Regions from separate parts of the Homo sapiens genome. Here all the other regions are linked to region 2. Evidence: promoter capture Hi-C in 16 types of primary human blood cells and fetal thymus (Javierre and others, 2016). All regions are on one chromosome and are shown on one strand. The core of a region is centred on a gene start or on the middle of the fragment in contact, and the rest is flanking DNA. Distances in the headings are between cores, read along the strand shown. Region 1 has its middle 63 kb from the start of DCT. Region 2 holds the start of GPR180 (G protein-coupled receptor 180). Region 3 overlaps DCT (dopachrome tautomerase).

Region 1 (2,700 bases), core at 122-2,621, 180 kb before region 2:
CCAGATGTGATATTGTGTTGTTAGACAAAGGCAATCTTGAAAAGCTTTCAAGGTAACATTTAAAAAGTAATCCTTTATTAGGTTGCCTAGCAAGATGCCCCATAAGTACTTAAAACCCGTAAGACGGTTGAGCTCAGATAAAGAATGCGTTACCAGATGGAGACAGTAATTACCCTGTCCCCGAACTCTAATTGTATTTACCCTGCCTTTTGCCTACGAAGTTGACAATACAATATCTGGCTTTTCAACTGGAGCACACCATTTCATATTTCCTGCTGGTACACATATATTAATGAATGGGTGCTTTCATTAACAAAAGTGTAAGACAAGAATATTTCAGTCATGCTGTTACACCTACTGCCTGATATAGATCATAAAGGACAAGAATAAAATTTAATTTGCAATAACTCTTTGGAGCTACAGTAATAGCTGCCCAGGAGTTCTTTGTCAGAGCATCTTGGCTTTTCATTAAGTACTCAGCCACTAAATTTTTTTCAATTCTGGCAGAAGCAGCCAGGGAACACTTTGGGAGCTCTATAAAAGGCACTCTCCTAATCTTCAAATCATTGGAAAGACTCTTTAGCATCTGTTAAAATATTTTTCCCTTCTAATCTGCCTGAAACTAACAGGGAGAAAATTCTGAGATGTTTCTTAATTAAGCAGTAAGAAATGGTGACGGGTGGTCTGCACTGACTTAATCACAGTTGTAAAGCATGAAAAAGGAAAAAGAGTTAAGTACCCCTAAATCCTCAGGCATCTGACTTCCCCAAGAATGTGCCTTATTGCTATTAGTAAGAAGTCTTTCCTCAGTTTGAATGAGGGAGATCCAAATGATGTGAAAAAAAAAAACTCAAACTCAAGAAAGAGTGAAGGCTGTGAGTGATGTAGGAAAAAACAAAAAACAAAACAAAAAAAAACACCCAGCAAAGCAAATTTCTACCTTTGGCAAGAGGGGAGGAAAGAGTGATGAAGGCGCCAGTCCTAGGGCAAAGGGCTCTTGCTTCTGTGCAGTTATTACTTAGCCTAGTAGCTTCTGAGTGTGGCCTGCAGGACTGCCTCCTTGACCAAGCAGGTAATGCAATTGCAGCAACTGCAAAGTATGAGGCAACAAGGAAGGTGCTGGCTGCAACTAAGCAGCATGAGCTAGCGCCACCTAAAGGGATTCCTGTGCAATTCCAAGGCATTCATTCCGCACACAGCTGGTAAAGACAGGTCTGAGAGCAAAAATCTCCTTCCCCAAAACCAGTTTGTAACCCCTTTCTTAAAATCACCGTGAATGTGAGAATCTAAACCCTTAACCTACTTGCTAATCCCCATTTTCAAACTAGGACTTAGAGTCCCTACAAACTACTTACTAGCAAATCCTGAGAGCTTACCAGATAAGCATCTCAGGTAAACATTCTATCTATTCAGACCATTGACCCAGGAGATTTTTCCTGCTGCGTTTATTAAAACCCAAGACGAAAAGCAAGAATTAATTCTGGAATAGTCTTTTACACCGTTGATACACTTCTCACATCTGTGAAAATTTTATCCATGTCTCAGTTTGCATAATTGTATTGAATGATCTGTTAAGAACTGTTATAACAGCAAAAACAACAAAAAAATGCTCATTTGTTCTGCCATAATAATTGTCTATTTTATCTGAAGATGGTCAGAATATGCCACCCCAAAATATGCCACTTTCACATAAGAATTATTTTGAGCTGAAGACAATTGAGAAATACCAGACATAAGAGGAATTCTCCCTCCTCCCCATTTTTGCCTAAAAGTAGGGCATAAATTTCCCATTGTAAAGTTGACACAAATTTTTATTTGTAAAGGTGTTCACATCTTCCTTACTAGAAAGAGGAGAGAGCTGTTATTTGCATAACAATCTTACCAAACAACTCTTATCTACTATATATTTTTAGTCACCTTCCCACAACTTACCTCCCCTAGGAGCCCCAATCCCCCTTTCCTTTATCTAGGTCTCCAGAATTTATCACCCTCTGTTAGGATGGTATATAAGCTATCAATTCTAACCAGCCCTCTGAGTTACTCATCAGTGAGTTCTCCCTCATGTCCTACATATACCATGTGTAAATAGGCTCTGGTTTTTTTTCTTCTTTTAACCTGTATTTTATCAGTTTAATTCATAGGCCTGGCACTAAACCTAAGATGATAGAGGAAAAGTTTTTAGCCCCTTACCTATTCTTATAAGAATTATATGAAATAAGTATGCCATACTACCAACTCACTTCATGTTATTTATCATTTCATTTTCCTCCACAAAGAGGCCAAAATCTGGTGGTTTGAAAGACCTCATTAAGTATAGGAATTAAATATAGTACTGGTGTTTTTGTAATTCATTACTTGCAGATTTCATACTTGCTAGTTCACCTACTCATTAAAATTCATTTTCATAGTGATTTGCAGACATGCATATGCACAGAGCAGTGACAAATTTAACTCATCTGATGCCCACATTCTAGCTGAGGTTCAACAAGGTGATGCTCTGCCTTCTCATTTCAACTCTCATACTAAAACTAGTGTTCTTTTCACAGTCTATTTAGTGCCATCTTTTTCTCAGTTTTGTGCTTTCTGTTGATTTTGCTGTTTACAATGTCCCCCACCAAATGTGGTGCTGAAGTGCTGTGTAGTGTTCCTAAAGCTGAGGAGTTCTTGAGGTGTCTTACAGAGAAAATGCATGTGTTAGAT
Region 2 (2,700 bases), core at 74-2,573:
ATCGCTTGAATCCGGGAGGCAGAGGTTGAGGTGAGCCGAGATCGCGCCATTGCACTCCAGTCTGAGCAACAAGAGTGAAACTCCGTCTCAAAAAAAAAAAAAGTGTAGTCACTGACCAGCTGGAGCTGACAATAGAGGCGGAGATTTCAGACACATGAATGGATACTTACAGTACAGTGCGTGAGTGCTCTGGTAGGGAAGTAAGGGATTCTGGTTCCAGGGGCATCTACTACAGACTTAGGGGTTTGAGAAAGGCTTCTTAAAGTGCCTTGGGAAGGAGGAGTAAAGGAGGAAAAGGAAGGTGAGGAGGTCCAGTGTTGGAATAAGCAGAAGTATTCTAGCCAGAGGGATCAGGGAGTGATATAGGCCTAGAAGGGAGAACTTGGGAGTGTTCAGGAAACCAACGGCGGTAAGGATGGAGATGAGAAAAAACAGACATTTGAGAGTTGAAGAGCCATATTCTAGAGTTTGGGTTGTGTGCTAAAGGCAATTGAGAACCTTTCAAGGCAAGTGCAGCAAATTGTTTCCTACAGCTTTCTGTGGCTGTAGGGTAGAGATGGATTGTAGCCAATTAGAATGAAGACTGTAGAGACGGTCTTTGCCATAGGCCAACAAAGTGATGAACTGAGTAGGACTGTGGCCGCTGCTTCCCACCCTCACCAGAAGAAGGGCTAATCCACACTTGTTATTGAATTGATTGAATTGCGGGGGGGGGGGGGCCTACAATTCCCAGCGGTCTGGTCTGCGGGCGGGGGTGGGGGTGGGGGTAATGTAATTCGAGAAGCCAGAGAACCTAGGAGGGAAAAATCGGCTGGAGATGCCAAGAGAAGGCATGCGTTAAATTGTGGTCATGCGGAGCTAAGTGTCTTTGAGACATTAAATCGGACACGTCCTGTAGGTTATACAGGCGCCAAGGAAGAAAATCTGCATAAGAACACAGTTTTTTCTTTGCGGGAGTTTAACTCTCTCGGCCAGAAACAGTCCTGTCCTGCATTTCTTAAGTTTTTTCCGAATCCCACAAGCCCTTCGAAGGCCCCGCGGACTCGTGCCAGCGCGCCCGCGCATGCTCAGTAGCAAGACGTGCTAGGCAATGAGGAGGGAGATGAGTTTTCCGTAACCTGAAGCAACATCCTCCTGATTCCTCATTAAAGAAAAAGGCGGGAACTAGTCAAAAGCCGGGGACTGATGGGACGCTAGGATCTGCGCGTCCCGCCCATTTCGGCCTCTGACTGGTGAATGTCTTCGGCTTATGGCAGAGGAGCCCGCCTCATTGGCTCTCAGGCTCCAGAGCAGCAGGTCTCCGGCGCCCACCCCGCCTCCCCCAGCTGCCGACGTGGGGCGGGCAGCCGCCGGCGGCTGGGAGCCGAGGCGTCGGTGCAGACCTGGAGACGGGCATGGGGGGGCTGCGGCTGCTGGCTGTGGCCCTCACGTGCTGCTGGTGGCCGCAGGGCAGCCAGGGTAAGACCCTGCGGGGCAGCTTCAGCAGCACCGCGGCCCAGGACGCCCAGGGCCAGCGCATCGGCCACTTCGAGTTCCATGGTAGGTCTGGGGGCGGGGAGGGGGATGAAGGCGCGCTGGCCCATCCCGCCGGCTGAGTCCGCCGGCCGCTCCTCCCGGCCCCTCCCTGCCACGTTGGGCGAGGCCGGCGACTTCCCCAGCCTCACCTGGACCTCCAGCGTTGCAGCAGCTGCCGCGAATGGTGGGATGCGTTCCTTGCCAACCCCGCTGGTGCGGCTTTCCAGCCCCAGGCAGCGGCCTCTCGCCACTAGTGATCGTGTTCCGCACCTGAAAGCTGGTTTCCATTTCCCCAACCCTCCCCTTGGAAGCCAATGTGCAAAAGACTGGTCGGCCGCATCTTTCCAGATCCTTCCCGCAAAGAAGCATATTTGCTCCTTCCTGTCTCGGCCACACTGTGACGGGAGAATTTAACCCTAGAAACTTAAATTTCCTTTTTTTTTTTTTTTTTTTTAAAGACCAATTTCCTGAGACCTACTTGCAACAGAGTGGTTTTGGAAACCAAGTAAAACACTTGATAATGTAGTTGTTATATTGAGCAGTTTGGTTACTTGGCTACTAGGGCAGTAGATTTACTATGGGCAGTAAGGCCTAGAATTAAGCTGATGAAAATGCATTTAAGTAGCATCTTGGAAGCTCCCTAATTTGTGTTCTGTGTGGCTCTTCTGAAATCAGAGTTGCGTTTGATTTCAGACCTTTTGGTCTTCCTCAAAAATCAGTAATTATTCCTTCAATAAATGCATTTGCAATTCATTCTAATTTTGGTCTCATTTGCACTCTCACAATTTAAGTGTTTTTCTTGGTACTCTTAATTTGACTAGTGCTGTATTTCAAATAATTATTTGCCTTGATGACATTAGGAACTTTGATTTGTACAGTCTTTAGCATTAAAAGATGCAACGATGAACATCAGAATATTGGCCTAGAAAATATTGTTAGGAGAAGATAATAGAAACGGAACTACTTTGGTGAGAAAAGGAATTTAAAGTATTGGGAAATTACAGAATTGACAGAATAAAGGGAAGGGATCCTGATTTTTTTTTTTTTTGAAGTTTTTAAGATAGCTAAGAAAAGGAGTTTCAGTAACCCAGTTTTTCAAAATCCAATGTGGAATATATTTTGGGTGAATGAAGAAGAAACACTAGAAACAATTTTATTATTTTTTGTAACATTTTGAGTTTCTCA
Region 3 (2,720 bases), core at 179-2,678, 150 kb before region 2:
CGCTCTTGTCACCCAGGCTGGAGTGCGATGGCACGATCTTGGCTCACTGCAACCTCCACCTCCCGGGTTCAAGTGATTCTCCTGCCTCAGCCTCCCAAGCAGCTGAGACTACAGGTGCCTAACACCACACCCGGCTAATTTTTGTATTTTTAGTAGAGACAAGGTTTCACCATGTTGGCCAGGCTGGTCTTGAACTCCTGACCTCAGGTAACCCACCCACCTCAGCCTCCCAAAGTGCTGGGATTACAGGCGTGAGCCACTGCATCTGGCCTAGACTTCACTTATAAGAAGAGAAATGCAAATTAAAATTTGCTAAAATGCCTTTTCACCTATCACGTTGACAAAGATGAAAAAGTGTGATGACACAGGGACAAAGAGCATAATGAGAGGGAATGATGGGGGAACTGTGGCTCTGACACATAGGTGACACACAGGTATTAGGAGGGAATATTGTCCAAACTTCTAGAGGCAATTCTGTAACATTTATCAAATTTCAAATGCATTTTTTTACCCTTTAAGCCAGGGATTCTATTCTCTTTACTTACCTTACATGTTCAAGGATGTTTGTTGTAGCATTGTAAAGCAAACGATTAGAAATCACCTAAATGTCCATCAACAGAAAATAGTTTAAAATCTTAAATTTAAAATTAAAATAATACATTTCAGGATAAATCCATGCAAAAGAATACTATACAGCTATAAAAAAAGAATAAGAATGCCCTTCAGAACTGAAATGATTTGGAATAAGTTAAAAAAAAAGTGGGGGAAAGGCAAAGGGACAGAGGGGTCTATAATATGCTACCATGTAGATAAATATATAAACATATTTGTTTGTGTATTTATAAAATATATCTGGAAAATTAGAAAAAAATTGTATTGTTTGCTGGAAGATGGTAGTGATAATACGGACTTCATTTTATACATTTTATATTTTGAATCTTTTATGTGCACTAAGATTTTAAGATGAAAAAATTTAGAAAACTATGCAACAACCTAAAAATTAAATAAATTAAGTGATAATGGGATATTATACATAATAGGTGCCTTATAGAGATGGTCCTCTGAATCCAATTATAAGTAATCTAGACATGATTTAGAGTATACAGAAGGATGTGCGTACCTTATATGCAAATATAATGCCATTTTATATAAGGGACTTGAGTAGTCACAGATTTTGGTACCCATGGTGGGGGGTCCTGGAACTAATTCCCTCAAGATATTGAGGGATGACTATAATTGCAACTGTATAAAACATATGAGAATATGAAAAGAAATAAACAAAAAAATTGAGATGGAATTACAGGCATTTAAAAACTATTTTCACCAACATTTCTGTAATTATAAATAATATAAAAATCATAAACCAATAAAAATAAAAATTTCACATACAACAATGTTATTTTATTTTTTTACAATATTAGTCTAATTATGATTTTTCTTATTTAAAGTAAAGCAAAATGGATCTATCTTTAAATGTTTCACTCTTGGGAAGAAAAAAGCAATGCCCTATTGATATGGTTTAGCTGTGTTCCCACCCAAATCTCATCTTGAATTGTAGCTCCCACAGTTCCCACATGTTGTGGAAGGGATGTAATTGAATCATGGGGGTGGGTCTTTCCCATGCTGTTCTTATGATAGTGAATAAGTCTCATGAGATCTGATGGTTTTATAAATGAGAGTTTTCCTGCACAAGTTCTCTCTTGGCTGCCACCATGTAAGATGTGCTTTTCACCTTCCACCATGATCGTGAGGTCTCCCCAGCCACATAGAACTGTAAGTCCATTAAACCTCTTTTTCTCTATAAATTACTCAGTCTCAGATACATCTTTATCAGCAGCATGAAAACAGACTGATACACCTATCCTTCTTTTTTTAAATTTCAACTAAACTCACTCTAACTCAGAATTATTTATACCTGTAATTGTGAGCTTTTGATTTCACTAACTTTGTTGTAGCCTAGAACAGCAGACTCAGAAGGGCTCTTTCTTACAGGGTTAATTTATGGTAGTCCATCAGCTATGTGTGGTTTTAGAAATTCATTTTCTCCTGCTGCACATTTTCTAAATTAATGAACTTATTTTATACACTGATTAGTAATAAGACTACTGTATGTTGTATTCCATTTAGAATGTCAACGTACAAGGTAGAAAACAGGCACGAGCTGTTTAGTATTAATTATGGAACCTATGGACCCCCCAGCCACTGATGAATTGAAGGAACGTAGAACTCACCAAATGTACTTTCTAAAAGGATAACATCCAAGTATACTCTTAAGAATAGTATCTTTAGGAATTGGGAAGGAAATTACCACTATGTAACACAGTTTCTTTCTTGGCATTTAAATAACTTTACAGTCTGTTGGTTTCCTTTTTTTTCTCTTTTCTGGATTATATCTAAATTTAATATTGAAGACAGCACTTAGCATTTCTCTGGCCTAATCTTATTTTCCATGATAAATGTGTGCATTTGCCTCAATTACCTTAGGAATTACTAGAGATTGCTTCAGAGTTTTTCCTGCACTTTAATGTTCTGCCTTCTTTTGCTCATTATTGTGATCACATACAATTTTGTAGCTCTATTGCTTGGAGAGATTTCACAAAAAAAATTTTAATAAATGTCATGTGCAATATATTTGCATGAATTGCCTCATGAATTTGAAATTCCAGAAGCTATAACTCTGTTAACTGAAATACTTTAACCTGGATCTCAATATGTGAAAA

Evidence for each region. The method cuts DNA at HindIII sites, captures the fragments that hold promoters and counts their contacts. A CHiCAGO score of 5 or more calls a contact.
Region 1: a contact is called between a fragment that was not itself captured here and the fragment with the promoter of GPR180 in region 2, in 5 of 17 cell types (naive CD4 T cells, total CD4 T cells, activated CD4 T cells and 2 more). The highest score is 6.7, in naive CD4 T cells.
Region 3: a contact is called between a fragment that was not itself captured here and the fragment with the promoter of GPR180 in region 2, in 6 of 17 cell types (naive CD4 T cells, activated CD4 T cells, naive CD8 T cells and 3 more). The highest score is 8.1, in naive CD4 T cells.

The regions. Positions count from the first base shown.
Region 1 is chr13:94,415,526-94,418,225 of GRCh38, forward strand. No RefSeq gene overlaps it. Among named protein-coding and RNA genes, the nearest start is that of DCT, 63 kb to the right of the region's middle. The HindIII fragment of the contact is 2,659 bases long and covers 43-2,700 here.
Region 2 is chr13:94,600,534-94,603,233 of GRCh38, forward strand. GPR180 (G protein-coupled receptor 180) reads left to right here and starts at 1,324. Exons shown (of 9, transcript NM_180989.6): 1 at 1,324-1,539. The coding sequence starts at 1,395. RefSeq lists an enhancer at 1,062-1,356 and a silencer at 1,135-1,734. The HindIII fragment of the contact is 8,659 bases long and covers 1-2,700 here.
Region 3 is chr13:94,452,062-94,454,781 of GRCh38, forward strand. The region is part of intron 6 of DCT (dopachrome tautomerase); the gene reads right to left. Among named protein-coding and RNA genes, the nearest start is that of DCT, 26 kb to the right of the region's middle. The HindIII fragment of the contact is 5,711 bases long and covers 1-2,720 here.